Regions from separate parts of the Homo sapiens genome. Here all the other regions are linked to region 2. Evidence: promoter capture Hi-C in human tissues and cell types (Jung and others, 2019). All regions are on one chromosome and are shown on one strand. Each heading gives the region's core, a stretch centred on a gene start or on the middle of the fragment in contact. The rest is flanking DNA. Distances are from core to core; before and after follow the strand shown. Region 1 overlaps PSMB7 (proteasome 20S subunit beta 7). Region 2 holds the start of WDR38 (WD repeat domain 38). Region 3 overlaps NR6A1 (nuclear receptor subfamily 6 group A member 1). Region 4 overlaps NR6A1 (nuclear receptor subfamily 6 group A member 1). Region 5 overlaps NR6A1 (nuclear receptor subfamily 6 group A member 1).

What was found. The method cuts DNA at HindIII sites, captures the fragments that hold promoters and counts their contacts. A contact is called where the count stands out against the background at its distance.
Region 1: a fragment that was not itself captured here is called in contact with the fragment with the promoter of WDR38 in region 2 in 1 of the 25 tissues and cell types used here (dorsolateral prefrontal cortex).
Region 3: a fragment that was not itself captured here is called in contact with the fragment with the promoter of WDR38 in region 2 in 1 of the 25 tissues and cell types used here (dorsolateral prefrontal cortex).
Region 4: a fragment that was not itself captured here is called in contact with the fragment with the promoter of WDR38 in region 2 in 1 of the 25 tissues and cell types used here (H1 embryonic stem cells).
Region 5: a contact is called between a fragment that was not itself captured here and the fragment with the promoter of WDR38 in region 2, in 2 of the 25 tissues and cell types used here (dorsolateral prefrontal cortex and mesenchymal stem cells).

The regions. Positions count from the first base shown.
Region 1 is chr9:124,368,406-124,374,323 of GRCh38, reverse strand. The region is part of intron 6 of PSMB7 (proteasome 20S subunit beta 7); the gene reads left to right. Among named protein-coding and RNA genes, the nearest start is that of PSMB7, 44 kb to the left of the region's middle. The HindIII fragment of the contact is 6,367 bases long and covers 1-5,441 here.
Region 2 is chr9:124,849,041-124,854,898 of GRCh38, reverse strand. It overlaps WDR38 (WD repeat domain 38), which reads right to left and starts at 1,439. Exons shown (of 9, transcript NM_001045476.3): 1 at 1,299-1,439; 2 at 574-694. The coding sequence starts at 1,367. RefSeq lists a silencer at 1,338-1,387. The HindIII fragment of the contact is 15,289 bases long and covers 1-5,858 here.
Region 3 is chr9:124,539,131-124,544,478 of GRCh38, reverse strand. It overlaps NR6A1 (nuclear receptor subfamily 6 group A member 1), which reads left to right. Exons shown (of 10, transcript NM_033334.4): 4 at 622-677; 5 at 4,292-4,446. Among named protein-coding and RNA genes, the nearest start is that of NR5A1, 34 kb to the right of the region's middle. The HindIII fragment of the contact is 3,536 bases long and covers 617-4,152 here.
Region 4 is chr9:124,569,237-124,575,197 of GRCh38, reverse strand. The region is part of intron 2 of NR6A1 (nuclear receptor subfamily 6 group A member 1); the gene reads left to right. Among named protein-coding and RNA genes, the nearest start is that of NR5A1, 65 kb to the right of the region's middle. RefSeq lists an enhancer at 1-721. The HindIII fragment of the contact is 4,997 bases long and covers 300-5,296 here.
Region 5 is chr9:124,588,488-124,594,410 of GRCh38, reverse strand. The region is part of intron 2 of NR6A1 (nuclear receptor subfamily 6 group A member 1); the gene reads left to right. Among named protein-coding and RNA genes, the nearest start is that of MIR181A2HG, 67 kb to the left of the region's middle. The HindIII fragment of the contact is 3,555 bases long and covers 1-3,542 here.

The DNA.
Region 1 (5,918 bases), core at 1,009-3,508, 480 kb after region 2:
AGCTATTACCACAGTCAATCTTAGGACATTTCCAGCACCTTAAAAAAATAATAACTCCATTCTTATTGGCCATCACTCCCCATTTTCCCCCAACCTTCCCAGCCCTGGGCAATAACTAATCCACTATCTCTGTACACTTGCCTATTCTGGACATTTCATGTAAATGTAATCATATAATATGTGGTCTTTTGTGCCTAGCTTCTTTCACTTTGTGTAATATTTCACCCGTGTTGTAGCATATATCAGTATTTTATTTCTTTTTGATGGTCAAATAGTATTCTGTTGTATGGACATACCACATTTTACTTATTCATTAGTTGGACATTTGGATTGTTTTCACTATTTGACTATATTTATAATGCTGCTGTGAGCATTGGTGTACAAGTTTTTGTATGGACATATGTTATGATTTCTCTTGGGAAGAGAAATTCTAGGAGCAAGATTGCCAGGTCATATAGTTACTCTATGTTTAACCTTTTGTGGAACTACCAGAGTTTTCCAAAGCGTCTGTGCCACTAGCAGTGTGTGAAGGTTTCGATTTCTATATGTCCTCCTTTCCATATATCCTTCCATATATCCTCTATCCTTGATTGTCACCAAGACTTATCATCCTTTGGATTGTAGTCATCCTGGTGGGTGTGTGTGACTTGGTATCTTATTGTGGTTTTGATGGATTTTTTGTTAAGAACTAGTGCAACTATGGAAACGTTTAGATGGGACAATTGAAACATTTGACGTGCTTCCTTTATACACTGGATTTGTGCCGTAATTGGGTTGATGATTGTACATTTGTTTAAATATTGAAAGGGCCTTTTCAGAGGCTCCCCCTGAGGCTATTTCTGTCATTTGCTTTTGGTCGTAATTCCTGCTTATTGGCTTTCCTTAAGACCTGAAGCATTAGACATAATAAATTGTCTTTATTATTGGATCAAAAGATGTATCAGTTTTCCCCAATAATTTTCTCTCTGGCTTTATTTAGCATAAAACGTTAGGTTTTAGAGATGTCTGAACCCTAACATACAATCCCTGGGGTCCTGTATGGAATTATTCTAAGTAGTGATTTCTAATAGTGCTATTAACCAGTTAATTTTAGAAGTGAACAGTTACTGAAGTTGGCATTTATGGTTCAGTGGGTGATTCGGAAAATCACCCATTATGTCTTTAGAATAGATGATGATGAGAAACTCTGTTGAAGGTGAAAGGTTCCCACCAGCACCAGATATTTTGAGTTGTCCCCCTTTTAAGAAGTGAGCTTGCTCTGTGCATTGGAGACCACTGGTGGCCAGCTTTGGAGAGGTAGGAAGGGACTTCTTGAGTTAAGGCTGCCCTCTTCAGTCTTCTTGCTTTTTGAATTTTGTGGCATCTTACAGAGCAGATATAAATTTTATGCGGTCTTTCACCTGATTCAAGAGCAGGACTTTGCTTCCTACCATACAGGGTTTGGAATTTTAGAAGTAATTGCTTCTTTCTTTCTTGATTCTCTAGGATTCGTTAGTCTTCCTGGACTTAGAAGTGGCCACTGAATGTGTATTCTTCTGTTCAAGTCTGTGTCTTCCTCATCTCTCTATCTTTAGAACCCCAGTTAATGGTGGTGGCTGGTCCTCATTTCTACCCTTGCCATTGCATTCTGCCTTTATTAAAAGTCAAAGTTGAAAGTGGCATATTTTGGGGAAGGGTTGAAGGAAATTTTAGAAAGTGTGACTTACTCCCATTTAATTTCAGGAAATAAAAGGGGGTTAGATGGAAGGAAACAGAGAAGGAAAGGCATAGTTTACCAAAAATCTCCGTAAGCTTGGAATGGATCCTTCTTGGGGCCAGGTCTCTGGAATTCAAGAATCAACAAATCTTAGGAAAGTGACTATATACATTTTGAAGGTCTCTATTTCCAGTTCTTAGAGGAGTAATGAAAGGATATCAACAAATGGTATATTGGCTTTGTTATTGACTTTGTTGATTTTTCTCCCAAAAATATTTCTGAAAATTCTGTCATGTCTTCTGCCCTGCTGTGTAAACACCCAATTTCATATTCTCATATAACCAGTATGTCATCAGCAGAATGTCATCAGGTTCCAAGTGATTACCAGCTGTTAGGCTTGGTGCTGTAATGCAGAGGCAGTACTGAGAGAGGCTGTTGTGTATGGTGGTGGGAATTCCTTGTGCAGCTATTGGCAAAGTAGATAGAAAAGAAGGGATAGGTATTCTATTGTAGTTGATAGGTAATTATTTATGATGCATTTCTTTGGAGCAGGTGTTCCATTTGTAATATGCAATGTTTTTGCTTTACATATTTCCTAGAACAAAAGCAGTGTTTTTGTAAAAAGCAATGTTTTTGCTTTACATATTTCCTAGAACTGAAATGTAGGGGGACATACACCATATAGGAGAAATATTTCACGAAGTATGTTGTCTGCTGGCACCTGTGGCAAAAGTCCAGCAAGCAAAAAACTTCTGGTCTTGTGACCAGAGACGAATCAGAGAGAGAGGTGAGAGCTAGATTCAGAGATAGTGTTGAATTCGTAAGTGTTTGGAGACTTTTAACTGTATAGGTGGAATTGAAAGGAAGATATTGCTAATGAAATGTTCTGTGTCGTGATATCAAAGAGAAAATGGGACTTCACCGCTCTCTTCAAATTGAATTGCCTTTGCTAACTTGGGTCTCAGGTACATAATAAGCACTAAAAATCCTTCCTTTATCTAGGTTGTCTTTTTTCGGTTACTTGAGCCAAGCCAAGATTTAGAATGGGAAGATTTTCATTGGGAAAAGAAATAAAAGATACTCTTTTGTTATTCACTGACTTTATTTCATTTTAGAATTCTATTTGGTAAAAATTTGGAATCATAACCACTTATTGAACAGTGGCTTTCAGGGGGAGAGGAGGAAACCAGCACGAATTTCACCATCAAAAGTGAGGCTCTGTTAGAAATCCAAGAGGTCGTCTGTGGTTAGAGTTTCGCAAGCTCTTGGAACAATGGATTTCCACTTTCTTGTATATGGGTTAAAGAAATACAAGAAATGAAATATAGGACCGAGTGTTACTGGTTTGTAGCTTAGAATCTTATAAGTTTTGCCTTGGCAGGTAATTTGGCATAAATTGTTAATGTAAATCTGGTTTAGTGGTGAAGACATTATTTTAGTAAAAAAGATAAACTGCTGATTAATTCAGCATAGAACTCAATTACAAATTGAAAGTGTCTCTGCGGGACTCCCGGACCCTAAAGACAGCAGATGTTGAATTGATAATCCAGCATATTTCACAGCGGTATGAAATATTCACATGGTTTATTGTACTTGTGTGGTGTGCGATATCAGAAAGGGGGGTGGTGGGTTCATGGGTGTGCAAGACAGTCACACACTGCACATTTGCTAATATACACGGAAGCATGATGAAGAATTTTAGCAAAGATTTTTCTTCTTTTTATTAGCTCTGTGGAAAATTAAGTTTAAAATAATATTTGGGGCCAAATATTTAAATGTAGTACCTGTGTAGGTTTGCATGATATATGTAAATTAACCTAAACTATAAAATGGTAAACCTTCTAATGCAGGGCATTTAGGTGTTAATTGAGACCACTGCCTACAAGAATTGGGGGGCGTGAGGGCTTGGACCGTATTTCACTGAGTTAATTGTCAGCTTTCACAGGCTGGAAGGTTTTAAATTGCTACTGTACTGTTTTTACCTTGTGATCTAAAGCATATGGTAATTTAAAAATGCCCCTGTATTTTACACAGGCAGGCAGAGAAGTTTTGTTTCTAGCCAAGAAAAAAAAAGCTTTGCAGTTTTTATGTATCTATATCAACTCAAGGGGGGAAAGTCAGCAAATTTTATATATCGGAAGATCTGAATAAACGGAACTGCCAATATTTGAAGGGACTGGCGATTCTTAAGAGGGATGAGAATAAAGTTGGCTTGGATGAGATATTTCAAAGCCATTACTACCTTTATGACAGGTTTTTTTTTTTTCCATGACAGCCTATATCAAGTGTAGGTTTTGCTAGCTGAAGTAAAAACAGTTCTAAAAATAGCCAAATGATTATGGTCGGAACAAATATACCCTGGATACCTTCTGCTATTGTGAAAGCTTTAAAAAAAAAAAAAAAAGGTGCTCTTTCTCAAAAACTCCTAAGGCACATCAAAACTGGCAAAGGCAGAGTGTAATAGGGGAAGTTTCTTGGCATCTGCGCCACCAGAAGAGATCTGTGTTGCCACTGGAGTTGCCATTAAGCCCTCTGTAAACTGTTGATAGACGGTGGTCCTTCAGACATGTGAAGGGTGGGCTTGCATGCCATTCACCTTGAGTTTTGTTGATCAGGCCTGTGCCTGGTTTTAAGACATGGTCCCTTTCTTAGTGACTTTACAACCTAGAGAGGGGTGCACAGGCCCACAAGCAGGGACTATGTCATGAAAAGTCGAGAACGGTACCCATACAGTGGGCAGTAGGGGTACGGCGGAAGAGGAGCCGATGGACTCTATCTGGGAGACTATAAAGCCACCTCAAATTGCATGTGACTCCTCACATGAATTGTTTTTGGTCTTGGGGTGTGAGGAAAGGTGGGACAGGGAGGCAGAAGAGAAGGAGACCATTCCGGACAGGAATGTTAAGTCCAGAGGCACGGGGGCCCCTGCTCTGCCTCTCAGTCGTGCAGTCCTGGAAGTTGGGACAGCTGGGAAGGGAAATGGCAGACAGTGTCTAAAGTTGTCTGGGCGGTCATTTCCCGAGTCAGTGTGGCCTTTTAATTAGCATCCGCTCTTCAATGTGAGATAAGGCCGGAGCTTAGCATCCCTGTCCCTGCATGTGAATATTTAGTTTAGAAAGCTGCCACGTTCCATTAGAGGTGCTTGTGTTGCAGCAGTGGGTGCAGGAGCTGTGTAGACTTTTCAGATGTCCTTTGAGATTTATGTTGCAGTGTAATTGGGAGATGCTGGTACTTAGTGTGTTGTGCATGGCGGAATGTGAGATTACCTGCTGTAATGAGACCCCAGCAGCATACCTCAGGAAGGTAGTTAAAGTTTTAACCTTAACAGATAATGTTACTTGTGGGTGTCTGTTAGGTAATTTATACTACCCTCCCCTCACCCTGAAATTGTGCAGAAACCAAGAAATGATAGGAAGTTGTACTAAATAGATATTTTAAAATTCCACCTAGTGGTACAGATTTTTAAAAATATTTGCAGTGAATATTTTATCTGTAGAATGTGGTCATTCTCGCCGTCATTGTCACCCTGTCATGTTAGAATGTAGTTTTTCTAGAATCAGAACCTTGGTGATAACAGAATATTAAAAAGACATAAAGACTCATTAACTTTGGTTCCTTGACAAATACACTGGCTTTTAACTCAGCTGAATGGAATTAGGGGATAGAGCGGTAAGAATGGGCTGGGTGGAGTGTGCACACGTGGGCTCTGAAGAGGCCTGGGTTGGAAGATTGATTTTTGCCTCTTGTGTAACCCCTGTAGCCCCAGTTTGTAAGATGTAAAACTCACTCTCATGAAATGGCCTGAAGTTGGTACTTGAAGGGATCATTACGAGGACAGTGTTTGTAAAATGCTTATCAGGTATAACAAGAGTTTACTCTCTGAGTCTCTGACTACCTCTTGTCCTGAAACTTTCAAAGAAAATTAAATTGCTTTTGATTTCTTGGTCAGTTTCAGTTAAGATTTACAATCAACAAATGGCCAGATGGGAAAATTAAATGATATCTTTTTGATTGACATACGGGGTGGCCGAAAATAATTTGACTGATTCTGTTTGCTGAGAGGTTTTATTACATGTATTTTAGGGAAATGTCAATGTTTGGATGTAGTTTTGATGCAGTGAATTTGATAGCTCTTTGCCGTGGGATTCGATGACTAGATTCTGTAGTAGAGGAATTCATCAGGATGTGTTTAATTTTACCAAATGTAACAAGCCAGATGAGT
Region 2 (5,858 bases), core at 190-2,689:
TTCTCTGAACTGTACACTTAAAAATGGACACAACAAAGCCGGTGCAGTGGCTCACGCCTTTAATCCCAGCACTTTGGGAGGCCGAGGTGGGTGGATCACGAGGTCAGGAGTTCAAGACCAGCCTGGCCAAGATGGTGAAACCCCGTCTCTACTAAAGATACAAAAAAATTAGCTGGGTGTGGTAGCAGGTGTCTATAATTCCAGCTACTCGAGAGGCTGAGGCAGAGAATTGCTTGAACCCAGGAGGCGGGGGTTGCAGTGAGCCGAGGTTGTCCAGCCTGGGTGACAGAGAGCGACTCTGTCACACACAAAAAAGGATGCAACAGTAAGTATTACTGTGTTACATTACAGTTGTTTTTGTATGTATGTGTGTGTGTGTGTGTGTTTTTAAAGAAGGCTGAGTCCAGGCCTGTTAGAGTCTAAGCCCCAGCACCCAGATATCTCGTCCCATCTCCCAACCTGCCCAGCCCTGCCTTGCACCCGTGCCCAGCTCATCGGAGGTCACTGCAGTCAGCTCTGCAGCATGCCAGACCCTTGTGCCTCGGTCTTCCCGGCCAGGTGTGGGAGCCCCACCTGTGTGGCCACCCAGCCTCCACAGCAGCTGCCCACTCCGGGTCTCCCAGCCATACACGCAGCCATCTTCTGAGCCTGTGAGCAGCATCTGGCCATCAGGGGAGAAGGCAGAAGAGTTGACCTAGAAACAGCACAAAAGCGGTCCCATTCTGGGGAAGAAACCCCTGTCCGCTCATCTCTGACCCCTAAACACTGCCCCCCAAGAGCCTGGGGTTGGAGCTTGACTTCAAGCCTCACTCCACCACCAGAGCCCAGAACCCGGGACCCACTGGGCCCTCTCTCGAGTCCCGTAAAGCCAGAGCCTGCAGTTGGAGGCAAGAGCCTTCTCTGGAACCAGAGCCTGGAACCCCAGAGCTAAGAGCCCATTCCAGAGCCGCAGCTGACAACGGAGAGTCCAGAATCTACTCTAAGTTCTGAGTTCACTTTAGAGCCAGGGCCCCAGAAAACACCAGAGTCAGCAGGGAGCTTTGTGCCCCTCTCGAGGCAGAGCCCAGAGCCCGGGGCTCTTTTTACAGGCAGAGCTTAGAACCTAGAGCTGCTCTGGAGCTGGGGCCCGGCACTGGAGCTGAGAACCTACTTCGATCCTTCTTGGGTTAGCAAAGTCTACTCTGGACTCAATGTCCTGAGCCACTGCCCAGAGAACATTCTGGAACCCCCACTACACAGAACCAGGAACCACTCTGCATCCAAAGCCGGGAGTCTGGGCAGAGCCCGCTGGACCTCACCTCCCCGCCGTGCTGGCCGAAGAATTTCACTCTCCGCACGGCCAGCGTGGCCGGGACCCCGCTGTTCATGGGCACCCGGCCCCGCCCCGCCCCGGCGGGCTCCCTCCTAGGCGGCCGCGGGACCCCAGGACTGGGCAGAGGAAAGAGGAAACTGTGTACAGGCGGTCTCCATGGTAATCGGGGCGGGGCGTGCGGCCATGGTGGGGTCCCTGCGAAGCCACGAGGACTGACAGGCAGGCCAGACCGCTTGCAGTTCGGCGGAGGTGGAGCCGCAGCAGGCGGGACCGCGGCGGGCTGGGAGAAGGGACTTCCCGCGCCAGCGGCTGCGCGTCCACTCTAGGGCAGCTCTCGCGCGGGGCAACACGGCAGGCAGAGCGGCCACTAGAGGGCGCGCCAGCCACACGCACCGCGCGGCCCAGAGCCCGGCCCCGCGCCCTGCGGACTGCGAACTGCAAGGGGTCCCTGCACCTCTTTGATACAGGGGAGCAACGAGCCTGTCTCCCCATCTGCACAACCGGGAGCATCAGCCCTGCCCCACAGGACTCCAGGGGTGAGCCAAGCACAGGGCCTGGCACACGGTAGATGCCCAAGAGGGCCCCCTCAGGAGCCAATACCCCTTCCGTCCAGGAGTGGCCAGTACTGAGGTTAAGGATGTCCCAGGAGAGCGCTGGGGACAGTAGCCAGCTCTGTCCTCCAGGGCGTGGAAGCCAGAGGTAGTGTGTGTAAAGTACATGGCATTAAAAGTGGGGTCACGTTGCTGTTAACATTCCTGGCAGCACAAAATGTGCCATCTGAGGATGGGGTGGAGGCTGGGGCTGGGGGGCAGTTGCCCAGGAGCTGCCAGGATCCTTACCGGATAGCGCAATCTGAAGCTTGGAACGAGCAGGACTTGGTTTCATTGTTAATTTACAGGTGAAGAAACTCACCCGGAGAGCTGGGAGGACTTGCTCAGAGCCACTCAGCCAGTAGGAGTGGAACTGGGATTTCAGCCCATGGCTGTCTGACTCTGGGTGTCTGTACTGGGACCACCTGCCATGAACTCCAGGGACCTCTCAGCAGATGTTGAGGTCCGCAACTCCTGGTACATCTGGGAAACTGAGGTCCGAAGGGGGCAGGACTTGGCCCAGCCATCTAGCCGGTGCTTCCATGGCAGAGCTGGGGCAGGACCCAGTCTCCCCACTCCCACAGCAGGACAGGGAGGGAACAGAGGACCCCCCACCTGCCCCGCCCATGGATTCTAGGCTCCCTGGGGGCAGGGGTGGAGCAGCTGGGCTTTGGGAGCTTCAAACTCAAGAGTTCCCAGCGGCGACTCACACCCTCCCCCCCTAAACCTCTTTGCCAGAAACTTCTCAGGAGATCCGCTGTGCTCCTGCTATTTTAAGTCCCAGACAGTCAGGCGGGTGAGGGAGCGACAATGACAGCTTTGAGGCAGTCCCACTCCATCCCAGATCCCAGAGGGCCTAGGTCACTGTGGGACCCTTCTGAGCTGGGCCTATAAAGCTGTCCCCCCACACCCAGATGTGGCTCCCAGACACAGCTCCCCAGAGCTACTATTCCCTGGCCCTCTGGCTCTCCTGCTCAGGCACCCCCCCAACCCATGCCCCGGCCCTGGGCACATTGTCTAGCCACTTGGTTGCTCCTGCTCTATCCAGAGGGCCCAGAGCCACCTTCCCCAGCCCAGCCCTTCACTCCCAGAACCCTCAGGGTAGACCTTGTCCACCAGGCCCAGTGACTGCTTGGCCGAAGGGGTGGAGCTGGGGTCGAAACCCGTGGGCTTGGCTCAGGCATCTGTAGGTGGAACCACCAACGTGAATGCCAGGGTCCGGAGGATCATCTCCGCGGATGAAGTGGTGGAGAAGTTTCTGCCAGTTTTCCACCACTGACTATCTCTTCCTTCTCCTCAGGGAGCCTGCCGCCTTCTCTCCTGTATTTGGCCAGGCTGTCCAGGGAGAGGGCTCTACCAAGATGTCCAGGATGGATGCCGCGCTGGCTTTTCTCACTGTCACTCCATTCCCTGAAGGGGACTGGAGGTCCTGGACCAGCCTTGCCTCTCCTCAGCTACGCATGTCAACCTTAAAACACCCCACAGGGCCAGGCATGGTGTTTCATGCCAGCAATCCTAGCTCTTTGGGAGACCAAAGCAGGCAGATCATTTGAGGCCAGGAGTTCAAGACCAGCTTGGGCAAGATGGTGAAACCCCATCTCTACTAAAAACAAAACAACAACGACAACAAACCTCACAAACATCTGTTCAGCAAAAAAAAAGAAAGAAAGAAAGAAAACAATCAAGGCAGGCAAAAAAGAACCCTCTATTTATTTGGATAAGAAAAGCAAGCAAAACCCCCAAATCTCCAGAGTGGTCAACTCTCAGGAGAGGAAGGGAGGGACTAGAAAAGGCAGGACCCTTGGGGTTTTGAGGAGCCACATTCCAGCTCTAAGCTGGGCAGGGGCCCCAGGTATCTGTTGAATTGTTCTTAAAGAATCGGCCCCGCCTGTCTGGCCCCTGCCTGCCTGTCCTTACTCTTCCTGGCTTCCTTGCCCTGCCCCATTTCTTATACCCTACCTGCAGTCCTACCCCAAGTCTGGAACAGTTTAGTGGGGAGCCAGCATTTCCTGACCGGTGCCCCAAGAAGCAGAGAATGTTGTTTTGTGGCAAGAGAGGAAGTAGGAGAGGGAGTTGGAGAGCCTAATTGCCCTGGTTTCTTCGAGGTTCCAGCTCCCAGCTCCAATACCTGAGCTGCTCCTCCTGCCCTCTAGGTTTTTTTTTTTTCTAAGATGGAGTCTCTGTCTCCCGGGCTGGCTGGAGTGCAGTGGCGCGATCTGGGCTCACTGCAACCTCTGCTTCCTGGGTTTAGGCAATTCTCCTGCCTCAGCCTCCCGAGTAGCTGGGATTACAGGCACCTGCCACCATGCCCAGCTAATTTTTGTATTTTTAGTAGAGATGGGGTTTCACCATGTTGGCCAGGCTGGTCTCAAACTCCTGACCTCGTGATCCACCCACCTCGGCCTCCCAAAGTGCTGGGATTATAGGCATGAGCCACCGCGCCGTGCCTGCCCTCCAGGTTTTAAAACATACCTGTTCCCAGCCAGATGCAGTGGCTCACCCCTGTAATCCCAGCACTTTGGGAGGCCGAGGCAGGCAGATCACGAGGTCAGGAGTTCGAGACCAGCCTGGCCAACATGGTGAAACCCTGTCTACTAAAAATACAAAATTTAGCCGGACACGTGATCCGCCTGCCTTGGCCTCCCAAAGTGCTGGGATTACAGGCGTGAGCCACCGCACCTGGCCTGTCATTATCCCTCTTAAAAAGTGTGTGGACCAGAACTAGAACCATGCTCACTGTTTGGACTGACAACCACCAAGCTGAAAGGTACTGTCATCTCCAGTTTCCTAGACACTCCATCTCTAGTAATGCAGTCTGCATTACTAGAGGCATTTATGTTTCCAAGAGCTATGTTATTCACTGCAAATGCACGAGAGCTTTTTCCCATGAACTGCTGTCCAGCCAGCCCTCCCTCCCCTGTCTGGTACTCACACAATGAGTTCTTCGGAAACGCACGCAAGACCTTACATTATGCTGGTTAAAGGTCATCTTCTTGGCCCCCATCCAGCCGTCTAGTCTTGAAAGCATTTTAAAAGTCCCACTTCTATTGCACAAAGCATTAATTCTGCTGCTGTGGCAGCTGCAAATTTTATGAGCGGGCCTGTGTTCTGGTCCAGATTGGGGAAATGATCAACATGACAGGGGTAAGAACAGAGCCACGGCCGAGCGTGGTGGCTCACGCCTGTAATCCCAGAACTTTGGGAGGCCGAGGCGGGTACATCACCTGAGGTCAGGAGTTCGAGACCAGCCTGGCCAACATGGTGAAACCCTGTCTGTACTAAAAATACAAAACTTAGCCGGGCATGGTGGCATGTGCCTGTCATCCCAGCTACTCGGGAGGCTGAGGCAGGAGAATTGCTTGAACCTGGGAGGCAGAGGTTGCAGTGAGCTGAGATGGCGCCACTGCACTCCAGCCTGGATGATGAGAGCGAAATTCCATCTCAAAAGCAAACAAACAAACAAAAAACAGAGCCCTTTGGTCTATCACTAGAGACCTCCAGTGATTATCTTTTTTGCCTCCATCCATCAGAGTCATGGGCTAACCATGGGGTCAGGGAGGGTACAGTCCCTTAGGAAAGGTCCGGGTGGGGAGGAAAGTAATTTAGATTCTTTTTTTTTTTTTTTTTTGAGACAGAGTTTTGCTCTTGTTGCCCAAGTTGGAGTGCAATGGTGCAATCTCGGCTCACTGCAACCTCCGCCCCCTGGGTTCAAGAGATTCTCCTGCCTCAGCCTCCCAAGTAGCTGGGATTACAGGCACCCACCACCACACCTGGCTAATTTTTGTACTTTTAGTAGAGATGGGGTTTCACCATGTTGGCCAGGCTGGTCTCAAACTCCAGACATCAGGTGATCCACCCACCTCAGCCTCCCAAAGTGCTGGGATTACAGGCGTGAGCCACCGCACCCTGGTGGTAATGTAGATTCTACCTCAAGCAGGGTTCTCTGGTTGCAAACA
Region 3 (5,348 bases), core at 1,135-3,634, 310 kb after region 2:
CGTATTAAGTGTTCCATAAAGAGTGATGATAATATTAGTAGTAGTTGTTATTCTTAGTCAGGAGATACTACTTAAAGGATGCTTTTTATACTTAGTAAATGCTAGGTAAGTTCCTTCGACTACACAGGTGCTCTACTGACTGCCTTTGCAGGGAGAAACCATTGAGGTCAAAATTCTGATTAATGAAAAAAACCAAAAAACCTGTTCTGATTCTACAAATCAAATCTAAACTTAGGCTGGGAATACAAACTATTTTATTTAAAAATGGAAATACTCTGTCCCTCCCCTAGAATTTGTCAAAACCTTAAGATGCATCATCCTGGCAGGATGTTTGTAACTGAAGGACTAGTGAGCAGTGCTATCACCTTTTTCGAACATATTGAATGTATACAGTGTGTGTAGTATGTACGCAATGCCTTGGGGGCCCCAAAATATTGCTGCCTATGAAGGAGCCTGGAATAATAGAAAGAATTGTGTGCTTTGGATCCAGAAGGACCTGTGTTTTAATGTTGGATTCACTAATTACTGTCTTATGCTTTTGGCCAAGTAAACTCTCTTTTTGTGCTAAGACTTATATGAGTGTGCTTCTGACTGCCTTTCTTGACTTATCTTTCCTTCCAGCTATCAGAGAAGATGGCATGCCTGGAGGCCGGAATAAGAGCATTGGGCCAGTCCAGGTGAGTTCTAGACCTCAGTCTCTGTGGTCCGTCCTGGAAGCCCAGGGCTCCAGCTGTTCCTGAAACTGCTCACCTTGACTCTTTCATCTGCTGCTGAGGAGAGCCATCTTTGCTTTCATTTCTGTAAAAGTGCTTTTACATCCTGGATGTGAAAGTGCTTTGAAAATCTTAAATATGTAAGTTAATGATTAAAGCTCTTCCTGTGATCCCTCAGCCTTTCCTAAGGATTTCACAGACAGTGAACCCAGTTATGGTTCTGAACCATCCAGAGGACTTTTTGATCAGTCCTTAAGGTTATAGATAACTAAGCCTGGCAGAAATGAGCAAGACTACTTTGCTTTGTTCATTTCATCTAAAAAATATATCAGCAGAATATTATTGTCTTATTGTAGAGTAGGAATGATAATACCCCCATTCAATCCCACAAACATTTACTGAGTTCCTACTCTTCCAGGCCCTATACTGTGAACTCAGTCTAATGGGAGAAACAGATAGGTAAACAGACATCATAGTAAGGTGAGAGGTAACAGAGGATGCCCAGGGACTACAGAGGGAGGGGCATCTATTCTGCTTGGGCTAGAGCCGTGGTTGGGGACTAGAGACACTCAAGAAAATAGACTGTGAAGAGACCCAACGATGAATCTTTATGACAAGGAGTTTGTTCAATTAGGCTGCAACATTGGGCACATGTAGTAGAGTGGCAGAAGATAAGGCAGAATCCTTGAATTTGGAATCAGTTCATTAGGGAGTGGCCTTCAAGTCTTTGACTACAGCTCCTTAGGAAAAGTCTTTGTTGGGCCAGCCTGCACCACTTGTTCTTACCCGTTGTTCTTACTTGCCAGCAGAAGAGCTTCATGAGGGTAGAAAATTGGATATATCTCTGCCCATCAGGTGAATCCCTTGGCACATTAGTAGGCAGAGAGCATGCCTTAGGAATTACTAGTGGCCAGGAGCAGTGGCACACGCCTGTAATCCCAGCACTTTGGGTGGCTGAGGCAGGAAGATCGCTTGAGGCCAGGAGTTCAAGACGAGCCTGGGCGACATAGCAAGACAGACCCTGTCTCTACCAAAAAATCAAATAAAATTTTAAAAAACTATTATTGTTACTGGTATGAGCCAAGAGGCAACCACTAAAAGGTTTTATTTAGATTTGCATTTTAGGAAGATCATTCTAGCAGGTAGAAATGGTTTGTGAGGAGTGAGGTGAGGGTGAGTAAAACTGAGGGAGAGAGAAAGCAGTTAGAAGGTTTTCACAGAAGTACAGGCAAGAGATACAGATAATAGTTTGAAGCAGAGCAATGGCAGTGCAGATAGAGGGGAGAGAATAGACTCAAGAGATATTTACTGGGTAAATTTATAGGATTTAGCCAGTTAAATGTGAGGGAATGAAAGAAAGGTGTTCGGAGTTGTCTTAAGACATACACTGATGATGTTTGGGGGATTTCTTATCATATGAGCACAGCGTACATTCAATCAGGCTGTGTGATTCCCAACTCTGCTGTGTTTATTCTTTTTTTCTAAAACATTTTTATTCTCGTTATTCAAGTCATATATATGTCTTACAAATTCTTTTTGTTTCTTGGTCTGGACTAATAGCTGCTCTTTTTTATTATGGCAGAAGTAAAAACCATATAACATGAAATCTACCTTTTGAACAAAATTTTAATTATACAGTACAGTGTTGTTAACTATATACACACTCTGATACAGCAAATCTTTAGAACTTTTCCATCTTACATGACTGAAACACTATACTCATTAGACAGCAGTTCCTCATTTTCCTCTCCCTTTGCCCATGGCAGCCACCATTCCACTTTCTGCTTATAAGAGTTTGACTACTTTAGATACCTCATAAAGTGGAATCATGCAGTATTTGTGCTTCTGTGACTGGTTTATTGCACTTGGTGTAATGTCATCATGGTTCCCCCTTGGTATAGCTTATAACAGGACTTTCCTCTTTTTTAAGGTGTTTTATGTATATATCACATTTTCTTTATGCATTTCTCTGTCATCAGACACTTAAATTGTTTTCACTTCTTGACTATTTTGAATAATGCTGCAGTGAACGTGGGAGTGCAGATATCTCTTCACAATCCTGATTTCAGTTCTTTTGGATTAATACCCATAGATGGGATTGCTGGATCATATGGTGTTTCTATTTTTAACTTTTAGAGGAACCTCCATGCTGTTTTCCATAGTGGTTGCACCGTTTTACATTCCCACTAACAGTGCACAAGGGTTTCCATTTCTTCACATCCTTACCAGCACTTGTTATTTTCTGGACTGGTTTTTTGTTTGTTTGTTTGTTTGTTTTGGGGTTTTTTTGTTGTTGTTGTGTTCTTTTACATACAACAGACATAACAGGTGTGAGGTAATATCTTCAAGTTTTGATTTGTATTTTCCTGATGATAAGTGATATTGAGCATCTTTTTATATACCTATTGGTCATTTGTCTTCTTTGGAGAAATGTCTGTTCAAGTTTCTTGTTCATTTTTCAGTGGGTTTTGTTTTGTTTTTTTTCTGTTCCTGAGTTATGGGAGTTCCTTGTATGTTGTGGATGTTGACCCCTTATCAAATGTATGATAATATATTCTCCCATTTCATAGGTTATCTTTTTACCCTGTTGATTGTTTCCTTTGTTGCACAGAAGCTTTTTAGTTTAATGTAGTCACACTTGGCTGTTTTTGTTCTGTTGTCTGTACTTTTGGTGTTGTATCCAAGAAATCACTGGCAAGACCAGTTTTATGAAGATTTTCCCCTGTGTTTTCTCCAAGGAGTTTTATAGTTTTAGGTCTTACATTTAAATATTTAATCTATTTTGAGGTTGACTTCTGTGAACGGTATAAGGGGTCGATGTCTTTTGGGGGCTGGGGGCGGGGCATGTGGATGTAGTTTTCCCAGCACTATTTGTTGAAGAGAGTATCCAAAATGTGGTGGTAGAAAGCCTCACAAAGGACATGACATTTGGGGTTTTTTGTTTGGTTTTGTTTTGTCTTCTTTTAAGACAGGGTCTTGCTCTGTCACCCAGGCTGGGGTGGGTTAGTGCAATCATGGCTCACTACAGCCTCAATCTTCTGAGCTTAGGCCAGAATCTCCTGCCTCAGTCTCCAGAGTAGGTAGGACTACAGGCATGCACCACCAGGCCCAACTAATTTTTCTATTTTTTGTAGAGACGGGTTTCACCGTGTTGTCCAGGCTGGTCTTGAACTCCTGGAACTCCCAAAGTTTTGGGATTACAGGCATGAGCCACCATGCCTGGCAAGAGGTGACATTTGAATTGAATCTTAAAGGGCAAGTAGGAGATTGTCATTGAGGAGTGGTGTTTCAGGGTTAGGAAAGAATAGCCTCAAGGACAAAAAGGAGTTGAAAGAACCTTGAGGCTTCACGGCTTGAGAGTAGTGTAAATGAGCAGGAGGAAGGCCACGAAGGGCCATGGTGCCAGTAGGAAGGAAGCCACGCCGTCCTAAGATTAGTGAGAGGCCCGGAATATGGGGATGGAGGAGAGGGAACCTAGGTTTCTGGGAAATCCTATGAGATTTAAATAAGCTCTCAGTCCTGAAGAAAGAGCAAGTGTCCTGAGCACCCATCTAACATGTCTCAATTCCTTGTCAAAGATATCGGAAGAAGAAATCGAAAGGATCATGTCTGGGCAGGAGTTTGAGGAAGAGGCCAATCACTGGAGCAACCATGGTGATAGTGACCACAGTTCCCCTGGGAACAGGGCTTCGGAGAGCAACCAGCCCTCACCAGGCTCCACACTGTCTTCCAGGTGAGCTTTAAGGCAAACCCATGGTCATCATCTAGGGATCCCCCACCAAAGGGAGAGCTACAGAAAACCTCTGGCTGAGTATCCCTGCCAGGCTGTCTCAGCCATTGTACTGTTGCTCCCTCAGACTCTTGGAGTAGGGGTCAGGAAGATTAAAAACAGTGTTTCCCAGCCCCTTTTATGCTAAAGACCTTGAAAATGTCAGTGGTCTCTTCTGCAGACTGATAAAGTGCTATAGCTTCTATCCATGCCCGTGCATTCTTCACCTAACAGAATAACATTTTAAATGTTGCCATTTTCCCTCATTTATTTTATCACTGAAATAAACCTTTTTGACAGTTTTGAATTAAACTGTAATTTCTCTGCCTCACAAGAGTCAATGTTTTTCACTTTATAAATTTTAAGAAACATTGAAGGCTTTTTAAGCCAGTCAAATTTGCTGCTATCAGAGAATACAAACTTAGAAACTCTTGGTTCAAGCATATCTTTAGTTAGTTGTCGAGTGTGAAATAGATCCTTCAGCTATTAGGGAAGCTTTCCTTTCCCCAGAAACCTTTCTTATAGGATATGGATTGACAAACTTTTTCTGCAAAGGCCAGATAGTAAATATTTTCAGCTTTCCGGGCCTAATGGTTTGGATCTCAGCTTCTCCATTCTGCCTTTGTAGTGTGAAAACAGCTATGGCCATGGACATTATGTGAACCAGTGAGCATGGCTGTGTTCCAAAATAGGCAGTGGGCTGGATTTAGCTTGCAAGCCAAAGTTTGCCAACCCCAGTTATAGGAGATACATTTAGGCAAAAGCTGGAAGATTTTTTTTTTTCTTAAGAGATGCCAGGCATGGTGGCTCACATCTGTATTCCCAGCACTTTGGGAGGTCAAGGTGGGTAGATTGCTTAAGTCCAG
Region 4 (5,961 bases), core at 1,549-4,048, 280 kb after region 2:
AGCCTGAGATCACAGGCCTAGCTTAATCCTCACCAATTTTGTATGAAGGTGGGGAGTACAGATGTGTAATACAGGCGGTAGGCTTCTTTTGATGTCCCAGAGCTAAGAGGGAAAGCCCATATTTCAATAGGCAGGAACATCACAGTGACTCAAGGCAATAAACAAGTCTGTGTTTCGTGCAAAGACCTAGCTTACCATTACAGGATGTGAATCAGCCAGCTTAGCAGTAGAAAATAAAAAGGACTGAGAGGTTTGAGTTACTATACACTCAGGACTGATCAATAATATTAACCCATTATCTTTTATGCAGTTGTAGAGTGTATACTTTATACCCGAAAGGTAATAAATTCTATTGCATTCATTTAAAACGTAGTATCCAAAAGGGAGTGGGAAGAATGATTTCCCTCTCTTTCCTGTACTCATCAAGCCACAGTAGATTCTGAGCATGATATTTTCATGTGGCATTTCCAAGCAAGAATATGTCCAGAGGAAAGGCAGATGGCCACCCACTGTGATGGGGAAATGATATATAAATCAGTTGTGGGACTAGGGGTATTAAACTCCAAAGGTTGTCAAACTCTTGGTGGAAAACGGGAGGGAGCAGGCTTGGGCAGGTTGCTCAGTGTTCACAGATTATATTAAGACCAGGATGTCTTCATTGCAGGGAATTATATTTTAGCATCAAATAAGGAAGTAAGCTCTTTATCACTGGAGATGTTCAAGCTCATGTAGGAAAGTTACTGTAAAAATGCAGTTATGAAATTAGATAAAGGAGTTAAATGACTCTGCTAAGGCTCCTTCAGTAATATTATAGTTAAGACTAAATTCTTACTCCTCATCTAATATTCTTTCTACTACCTCCTGCCTCTGATCAGAGTGGTATCTAGCAAGTGTGACATCTGGGAAGTATCTTGAAACTCTGAAACCAGTGTCATAATTTCTAATATGACAAACATATAGGTGCCATTCATTCATTCATACATATACCCATTCAACAGTATTTCTGAGCACCTACTTTGCTAAGTCTTAGGATATAAGAGTACGCAGGACATAGTCCCTGTCTTTGAAATTTATATTCCTGGTGGAGAGAAAAGGTTAATGTCTGCTTTTTTCATTCAGCAATAAAGAAACATTCCAGTGTCAGTACAAATATTCCAGTGTCAGTACATATTTACATATTGATGTTTTTAGCACAAAAGTAGTACATACTTGTGCTAAAGAGAAAATAGAGTAAAAATGTCCTCTTGTCTGTCCTCTGTGCCCTTCATTCTCCCTCTCTACCCTAATAATCACTGATAATAGTTTGGTAAATTTGCTTCCAAAGTTTTATCCATGTATATACCAAAGCATGCATGTGTATGTTCATATGTATATATGTTACGGCTTTAAAAAACAGTGGTTTTTGAGATGTGTCTTATCCTTTTTAAGTGATTGCTTATTCCATTGTATATGTATGTTAGTTTACTTAATCATTCTCCTCTCCTATAGATTAGTATTTAGGTTGCCCAACTTTTCACTATTACAATGTAGCGGCTGTATTTAAAAAGAACTCGGACATAAAAATGTGGAGGAAGATAATGAAGATAGGTGTCAGAAAGACATGCCCTATGAAATACTTTTAAAGGGAACACGAATGTTGGCTTCCTCAGTAAATAGTTACTGCATGAAAGAGAAAGCTTAGGGGACCATGTTGTTGTCTTCTGTGAAAGATTGTCCCATGGGGCCTCAGAGAGCGGAGTTAGGTCTAGTAGGCAGAAAGTTACAGGGTGAAAGATTTCAAGTTAGAATAAGGAAGAACTTAATAATAGTCCAAGCTGTTATGTAGTTGTGAGGTAGTGAATGCCTTACTTATGGAAGTATGCTAGTGTTCATTCCTTAGGTTGGAGTAGATGATCTCTTGATACCCCTTTAAGCACTGAAGCACTGAAATTTTACCCATGTAGGAGAAATTACAGCGTTCACAGCTCTCTTCAGACAAAAGAGCTGAGGGCTTCGTACTTTGCCCATTTACCATTTTCAGATGAATTACCCAGGGGGGATTCAGAGATGATTTTTCCTCCAAAGACTAGATCCTGTGAGCCTTCTTTTTTCCCACCCCATTGTCGCTGTGAAGATATTAGAAGTTGGCAGCTATTTTTAGTTATAAAAGTTTCAGCTTAATACAACTTTGAACCATGAACTGTTCAGAACAAGTAAATTGCAAAGACCATGAAGTCTCGTGTTGCACAGTTAATCTTCCTAATGCCAAAACCGTACTCAGTATCCTTCAGGCCTCACTTTAATGCTTTTTGATGCTCATTTTTTGGTTGGAAAAACAATTATTTCATAGTTTCCAATACCCAGGATTTCTGGTGACCTTTTCCTCAGACCTTGGAAAAGACCATCATCTCTGTCATGTCCACAGTGCTCTTCCTGTAGCTTCTTAGAGCTCCAGTTTGTCTATAGCTTGCCCTTACGAATTTCTAGAAAATTCACCTTGCCTGTTTTGCCTGTGGAAATGCTTCATTATAGAAGTACTGCTGACACCCAATTAATTTGCTGGAATTCCTTCCACTGACGTGTGCGAACATACCACAGATCTCCTCCACTAAGCTAAGCCCACTGTGGAGTCGAAAAGGGCAAGAAACCAGGTTTGATTCTCACTTTCTTCATGTGTTCTCAATTCGTATGACCTTGGGTAATCATTTCCCTGTGATTCAGTTTCCTCACTTGCAAAATGGAGGTTCTCTCATCAAACATATTGGAAAGAATAGTCTCTAGCAGTTGTTCCTACCTTTTTCTTGACATTTTGAAATCTACCTCCTTCCCTCCATGTTCTTGAAGTTGTCTTTAGATGATTAGTGACAAGATTAGTATGATTGCCATACCAGGCCATTATTGGAGCCTTGAGGCAAAAGGAAAATTCTAGTGATAGTCATCTGTTTAAAACTTTTTCTTGCATTAATTTTGTATTTTGATTTTTAAAGTTTGTATTAAAATATTTATATCGATTGAGTGTTTTGGCACCTGCCTAAATTTTGCACAGAGGCAGTAGTCCCAGCTCTGCCTTTTGCCTCGTCCCTCAGCCTGTTCTCAGTTCATAGCCTCAGTTTCTCCATACTGTTGACTGCTCTCTGTTTAGTACAGCTCTTTGTTTCCTTGACTTCCCTGGCATTGTACTGTCCATATTTTCCTTTGCTCCTAGGGTACCTTTTTTCTATCTCTTCTTGTTCTTCCTGATCTCTAAATATAGGCAGGCTTTCATTAAGGTCTGTCATAGTCAATTTTTTTTTTTTATGGTAAGTAAGAGAAACTCATCAAACTTAACTAGCTCAAGCCCTGAATGGAAGTTATTGGAAAGAAACTGGGTTAGAGCATGGAACACAGAGAAACATGGAAGAGTTGGGATTCAGGAGGGATGGCAGGAGTCATCAGGAGCCACAGGAACTACTCTCAGCCCCTCTGAAGCCATGAAGCATAGTACCTCTGCTTTACTTCATCCCCTAACCCTCATGATCACCACTACCACCTAGACAAATATCCTTTGCTTTTCAGGAACAAAGCCATCTCACTAGTCACCTCACAGCTCACTCTCATCCGAAGTTAGCAAGCCCTGTGAAATCTTGGCAATAGAGAGAATTGCATTAAACCAGTGCCTTTTTCCAGTCCCGTCAGCAGTGGCCATTATCTGTCCCTGGTCCAGTCAACTTGTCTAGCAGTGTAAACATAGTGCCCCACAGGCAGGGCAGTGGCTGCTCTCAAAGAAAAGATTGGTGTGGGCTGAGCAGACAGCCAGAAAGATATCTACTGCAGATTCCAGTCTCTCTTCATATCCTGTCCTCTGCAATCGCATCCATGCCCACAGCCTCCCTACAGAAGGACTCCTCAGGTCAATCTAACTCCAGAATTGCATGTTTGTGTTCATTGTGGCTCTCCTCATCTCCCACTACCTCAACTAACCCACTCCTAAGACACAGTTAAATACCCACAGCCAGCAAGCCCTTTTGTCTGTACTCTTCCCTCTGGCTGAAATTCTTTTTGACATACTTCTACTCTAAGGCTCAGTTCAGGTGATACCTCTTCTAGATAATCTTTCCTTCTGCCTCCCCATCTATCTCCAGAATGACTCATTCACTCTTCAGTGTCCACTACATCGTCTCTTGCTAGTTTAGTATTGACTGCTCTGTATTTAAATTATGGGATTGATGTCCATCTCCTCCACTGCCATGAGATACATAAAGGGCATAGAGGGGCTCTCAAATATTTATTCAGTGAGTAAATGTTGCAATGATTTGAGACAAGAAGTAAGAATTTTAAATAATCAATGTCTGCTTTATACTTCCAACTTCAAAAATACTTATTTGTTTAGATACAGTGCATGGATCCAAGCTATCTATGAATGAAATGCCTGTATATTTTTTCCACTGAGAACGATTTATATTTTTGCCTTAGATTCAAGCAACTGTTTCCCTGCCCCCCCACCCCCCACCAAGTAAACAAGGAATCCTTAAAAGTTTCCAGTGACATAAGACAAATAATAGATTTCTCCAACTAGAAAACCTAAGTTTGCTATGAAAATGAAAACCTTGTATTACAAATAACAGCTTAGTTTCTAATTCAGAGATCCCCACATAGAGGAGATAAGAAGGGAATTAAGGACTGTCTTCTGAATTTTTGTTTTCTTGCCCTCACCTACAGTTGAGAAGTCAGATGATGGAGTAGCCTTTTTCCTGGATTCATTTCAGTTCATTGTAGTTTGTTTCTAGGCCTACACAGTTAATGGCATCAGTAACATTTTCTTTTGTCTTTTTCTCATTTTTTCTTCTAGTGTAAACCAAAAAGTATCAAAGACAGGTCTCAATCAAGTTAGAAGTTTATTTTGCCAAGGTTTAAGGACACGCCTAGTAGACAGGTCTGTGCCTTTCTCCAAAGAGGGTTTTAGAATTGAAACGGGAAAAGCAGGCTGGAGGGGAAAGGGGAAAGGTATGGTCACATTACTGAATCCACATGTTGCAAGAGAAAAGGAGCAGCTAGGGGAATAGTCAATTATGTATTCATCTCAGTAAATCAGCACTTTACTTAAGATAAGGTGAACATAGAGTTGCTGCCCATGGAGATAGGTAACATTTTATCTGTAGCTATCTGCTTAGGAACAAAAGGAAAGGCAGCTTCTTGCATGACTCAACTTTCAGCTTAATTTTTTTTTCCTTTGGCATAGTAAATTGGGCTCCCAGACTTTTATTTTCCTTTCACACTAGTGATCAGTAAGAATAACTCCCAAATAGTCCATCAGTCTTGTAAATTGCTCACTTGTTTTCATTCAGCTGATGTCAATTTTTAGAAATGTCCTCTGAGGAACTCCATGTGTGACCTTGGAAATGGAATTTTATAGTAGTATGTGCGGTGGAATGGACATGGTATGTAAATAGAGGAACAGTGCGATGATTTTTTTATTATTTGTGTTTAAATTCTGTGTTTGCAAATGAAATTTTGAGGGTACCTGTTCCCAATTTCAATTCTGCTGTACAGCCTGAGGCCTTCATTTCAGATAGTGGCAACCTCATGAAACTGATTGGAGTCAGTCCTTAGAATGTACAACTGATCAGAGAGTTGGAACTAGTAATCCAGTTGAAACAGATCCCTTTTGTTTTAAATACCCTTTAGCCAGGCAAGTTCCAGATTGCCTTAGTTGTCAATAAAATTTTGGTCAAGCGAGTGGCTGTATTCTCCATTTCCTAAATCTGGCCTTCATCACAGTCTGAAAAGCAGGTTTTGATAAAAATCGGTTTCCAAATGTAATTTGCGTAACCTGAGCCCTTGGAATGGGTAAAATGCCCTTCCTGGGGTGGAGGAGGTATTTTTGTAACAGCAAGGCTGAGTGAAGGTATGAGAGTATGAAGCCTTTTTGTAACAGGTTTTGTCCTGTGTTTAACCAAATTAAGGTAGAACCGATTGCTAGAAGGGGAGGGTGTGTTGTGCTCA
Region 5 (5,923 bases), core at 516-3,015, 260 kb after region 2:
TCGACGAGCTTGAGTCTCTTAGTGATATGTAGTCTGCTAGCTCTGAAAGAGAAAAAAGGTTTGCACAGAAAGTTCTCCCCTGGTTCATATTTAAGTTTTGAAACTTCAGTTCTTCTTAGTCATTCAACTGCAGAAAATAACTTACGGTACCAAAACAAGAACTTTCATAAAATAAGGAAATGAATTTAAAATTGTTCACCTAGATCTTTCATTGAAAATTCTAATAAAGCAAAATGAATGATCCCAGTTGTAGGAGGTTTTGGAATCTTAAGAGGCAAAATCAACTGCTTACAAAAGAGGTCAGTGAAAATGCTACTGTAAAAAAAGCATTGCCTGGTTTTAGATATTGGGCCCTTGTCCATTTAAATTAACCTTTGTCACAGCTGGGCATACAAATGTTTTGTTTTAGTTCACAGAGGGTTAACTCTATTCAAGCTTTCACTGTGGCAGGCCTGATCTGTGGAGTCATACAATCTGGTCTTTCAGCCCTGCCAGTCGCTAGGCAGGAAGTCTTATTTCTTAAGCTATCTTTCAGAATGGGGGTTGGGATTTGGAGAAAGGTGGGGGAAGGGCTTTGGAGCATCTGTAAGGATCAATAACAGAGAGAGAGAGAGAGCCGTAAGAGAGGCCATTGTGCACACTTCAAGATAGATGCAGCCCTTGTGCACAGCCCCTGCCTGGCAGGACAGACACCTAAAACCAAAACAATGACACCGAATGAATTCTCTGTGAAAATTAGATTGCCGCTTAAAGGAGAAAAATACTTGAGTGCCCTTTCAACGTTGGGGAATATTCTCATTCCTCAACTTGCAAAGATTAGGCAACCCCCACTAAAAATAACTCCAAATTGATTTTTAAATGCCTTTTGTCCTCATGCTAATACTGTATTGAATTGGAGAGGGTGATCATTTGGGTCTTGGTCACATGCATCAAAGCATTGAGTAAGTAATCTTTTTTCTTCTCTCTCTCCCCCTCTCTGCTCTCTTCCTCCCTCCCTTTTTCTCTTCTTTTTTATTCTAATGTTTGCTTTACCCTGTTGGTTTTGGAGGCATCATTAAGGGAATGAAAAAACTAAGATTTGGTTAGGATTTGAGTAACACATGTGCGAAATCCCTCCCCGAACAGCTGGTATTGGCTCTCGAAACTTCAACTGAGCTAAACAGATGTTCCTAGTGTGTTATTTTGAGATAATTTAAACCAGACTTATAGTCAAGAACTCTACAAAAATTGTAGATTTGATTTTTAAATGCACTAAAGTTGTGATATCGTGCCACATCTTAATACATGTTATATGGGTGTTAAGCAAAAACACCTGAGCTTGGGAAAGTGAGCAGTTCCGCCAATGAAATTGTGATATTTAAAACACTACCAAGTTTGTTATTCTTTTACTCCAGCCCAGATTTTCATTTTTCAGATTCCCCTTTCCCAAACCCTGTAACATTCCTGTTTTACTGTATCCTTTTCCAGAGGACTAAGGCATTAATTCATTAGGTACTTTCTTGATGCAAATTCTTTATGGCATTTGGAAAGAGTAATGGAGTCATTGCCACCTTTCTTCTACTAAACTTCCAAAGTACTGGTGACAACTGACTGGTAACAGCTGAGAAAAATGGAATCCTAAACAGCCTTAAATAGTCTTCTCCCAACTTGAAATCTTCCAGGAATAAATGCATAAATGAACTGGGGGTCCATAATGTGGCTTGCAGACAGACAAATGGAATAAGGGGAGGCGGGGAGACCTGCGCTTGAAATTAGCAAGTTTAGTTTATTCTAGGCTTCTTGAGTTGAAAACTGACATAATCTGGACAATTTTGAGGCTAGGAAAAATATCTGGATGCCTCACATCATCTGGATATTTTTAACCCATCTCTAATCGGTACCCTTTTGCTGGGGAAAATGATGTACAGGAAGAAAATCTGATTTAATCACCGCAAACAGTACCTCCTTGACACAATTGATTCTGCCCCTCTGATATATTGTAATTCTCCATTAATATTTAAACCAAAGAATCGATTATTTTAATGGACATTTTCCATGGACATACAAATATTACTAACAAAACTTGGAAATTCAGTTACCATTTCCGTTGTGTTAAAATGGGGTATGAAACCTACCATGACCCTTTTGAACAATGTGGTCTTTAATGTGTATTAGGGGGAGGGCCTAGTGAAGGAAAAGCCATAAAAGTCCTCAGGGTTCAAGATGAGGTTGGGATTTTGGCCCATTGCTTTTGTCATTTTCACACACAAACATCGCTGCAATCATGTTTGATTTAGCATCCTTAATACAATGAGGTGGGAGAACAAAAGGATATCAGAGGCACAAATATGGCAACCAAACAATCTCCCACCCCGCGACCACCAATTTTTTCACATCATTCGTTTTTTTCTGTTCCCCTGCTACTGGGGTTTCTTTTTAAGCCGAGGAAATTAATCTATTTGCAAGAATCTTCTTTTTGCATGCCTCAGTAGTTTGCTTGGGCAATTGAAAAGCTACATCTCAAATGGTTTTTAGCTGTGTGAAAAGTCATTTCCTAAAAACTTGGGGAAAACGCTATAATTAGGAAAAATGCATCTACCCATATTTCAAGGTTAAGAGTTGGTCAGGGTGTGTGGTGGGGGGTGGGGGAGGTGTTCACACTGCACAGCTGTTTTACATATTTTGAAAAGCCTGATAGATGTAAAGGTCATTGCTAACTCTAACAGGGTCTTGATGCTCACACTGTGATCCAAGGACCTTGCATTAATTAGGATGAGAAGCATGGAAGGTCAGGAGTCAACCGGCTGGTGAGCCTCGATGGATTGTTAGTGGGACCAATCAGAATTCCTGTAGGATTTTTAAACCATTAAAACAAAAAAACAAAAACTACTGCTGCTTCTGTTGCCTCTGGATGGATCCCTTGGTCTGTGTGGCAAGGACTCGTCCCCTGTTGCCCAGATGGCTCATAAAAACTTGGCTACGTATATGGCTTTGCTACAGGCTTCCTGGTGTTGGAGAAAGAACCTCATCAGCTTGACTCTGTCACTTGGCCAAGTCACTTGACCTCTATGAACCTCAATTTCCTTATATATGCAACAGAGGATAGTAATACCTATCTCACAGGACCGCTATGGGAATTAAATAAGAAAACTGTCAAGAGTGCCCAGAACATGCTTAATGTGGCTTGAATTGAAATGAGTTTCAAAGAGGAGCAAATTTAGGGAAATTAAGAAAAAGAGAATTCTTGGGTGAGCCTATGGCTGGTGGTGTTTATACTCTAAGGTCTCCAGGGAGTGCCTCCATTCGGTAAGCAACAATAAGGGAGGGGCTCTTTGGAAATTTAGCCTTGAAAATGCTGTACAACCAGTGGGGCCAGCTGCTGAGCCTTCTAGAACCAATTGCAGTGTTAATATGCTATTCCTGTGGTAGTGATAATTAGTCATGAATGGGTCCCTGCAAAATTTCTGGCCTTTTCTCTACAGAAAGTCTTTTACAGTTCTGTTGATTGGAAGAAAATGGAGAGGGGGATGGGCTTTAAGGTAACAGAGATGTTAAATCATAACCAGGAAAAGAAGGATAATAAAGTTAGTCTTAATTTCCTGTGTTTTGATAGATAAATAGATGCCAAGACAGTTGCCATGACCATGTTTGATAGCCCTTTCTCAGGAGCTTTACTGTGAAGTAGTGAAGTTGGGAATGTTGTTAGCATGCTAATCATTGCCTTACTAACTTTGGAGTTGTCAACCTCTCTGCCTTCTGGGTTCAGGGGTTATATCAATGGCTTGTTATTCTAATCTCTGTATATAAAATTATTATGCAGCTAACATTCATGAAGTATTTACTATTTTCTAAGCACTAGGAACAGAGGTGAGTTAGAATTCCTCACCTAAACTACAGATCTCCTTTTTGATCTACAAAGAAGGAAAAATAGTTTTAATGTTGCTTAACAGATGTTGAATATTCACCACTTAAAAAGTGGAGCTTTTGAGAGTGACTGGGGGAGAAGATGAGCTAGCAGTGGGATTTGCTCTCACTTTGGGGCCCTGTATTTCTTTGAGGGTTTTTGCTTTTTGGGTTTTTTTTTTAACTACTTTTGCTAGGTATTTCTTGTGACTTATTTGCTCTTCCAAATGTATGGCTGCAAAATAGAATATTTTAATATTTTTCTTAACATGGTAAAATTAGAGGCCTGAATTACAATTGGCAAAAATGTAGAGAGAGTCGAAACCTCATTTTTCTGTTTCTCTGTTAGCATCCTATTTACCATTAGCGAAATGTTTTCCTTTCTATGAAGTTTCAGCATGTGGCTTCAGTGTGATGGCTACAGTAGACTAGCTTTGCTTTTTTTTTTTTTTTTTTTTTTTTTTTTTGACAGAGTCTTGCTCTGTCACCAGGCTGGAGAACAGTGGTGCGATCTCGGCTCACTGCAACCTCCATCTCTTGGGCTCAAGCGATTCTCCTGCCTCAATCTCCTGAGTAGCTGGGACTGCAAGCATGCGCCACCACGCCCAGCTGATTTTTGCATTTTTAGTAGAGACGGGATTTCACCATGTTGCCCAGGATGGTCTCGATCTCTTGACCTCATGATCTGCCTGCCTTGGCCTCCCAAAGTGGTGGGATTACAGGCATGAGCCAAGGTGCCCAGCCAGCTTTGCTTTTTAAAGGAGCTAATAAGTTATGGATAACTTATTAAGTATCAGATATATTTATTTATGGTATATTAAATAACCACTGCACAAGAAAATGTATGTTTTAGATATTTGAAAAAAGAAAAAAGCAGACACCATTCCTGTGAGCATTTAATCTCAAAATGTGCACAAGTCAGTGTGGAAAGAAGAGCAATGCAAATGAAAGGCTTGGCAACCAGTAGGTGGTAGCCATCAAGTCTTGGCCTTGGTCATTATTATAAGAGTATGTGTACATGTACACTATCATATGCATTTATGTTTATTTTTTTTATTTTTTATTTTTTGTTTGTTTGTTTTTGAGACGGAGTCTCGCTCTTTCGCCCAGGCCGGAGTGCAGTGGTGCTATCTCGGCTCACTGCAAGCTCCGCCTCCTTGGTTCACGCCACTCTCCTGCCTCAGCCTCCCGAGTAGCTGGGACTACAGGCGCCCGCCACCGCGCCCGGCTAATTTTTTGTGTTTTTAGTAGAGACGGGGTTTCACCGTGTTAGCCAGAATGGTCTCGATCTCCTGACCTCGTGATCCACCCGCCTCAGCCACCCAAAGTGCTGGGATTACAGGCGTGAGCCACCGGCCTGGCCTGTTTTTGTTTTTAACTTTGCCATGAGGTAGTTGTTAATTGCTGCTGACAAGAAAATCTGCTATCCTCGACTCTTTTATTCGACTGGGAGCAGGAAGAGGGAGAGGTGATGATGTGCCACAGTGAGTGTCTTTTCCTGTCACTGGATATAGTCTGGCCATACCATTGTTTGAACCATGAACCAGTTACCTTAAGAAACTGACCATCACATTATACTGTTTTTTTTTTCTTTCTTTTTTTTTTTTTTGAGACAGAGTCTCGTTCTGTCGCCCAGTCTGGAGTGCAGTGGCACGATCTCGGCTCACTGCAAGCTCTGCTTCCCGGGTTCGCGCCATTCTCCTGCCTCAGCCTCCCGAGTAGCTGGGACTACAGGCGCCCTCCACCATTCCCCGCTAATTTTTTGTATTTTTTAGTAGAGACGGGGTTTCACGTTGTTAGCCAGGATGGTGTCGATCTCCTGACTTTGTGATCCACCTGCTTCGGCCTCCCAAAGTGCTGGGATTACCGGCGTGAGCCACCACGCCGGGCCAGGAACCTAGAATATTAACAGTACGACGTGTTCCTGGGTGCAGTGGCTCACGCCTGTAATCCCAGCACTTGGGAGGCCGAAGCGGGTGGATCACGAGGCCAGGAGATCGACACCATCCTGGCTAACAGGGTGAAACCCCGTCTCTACTAA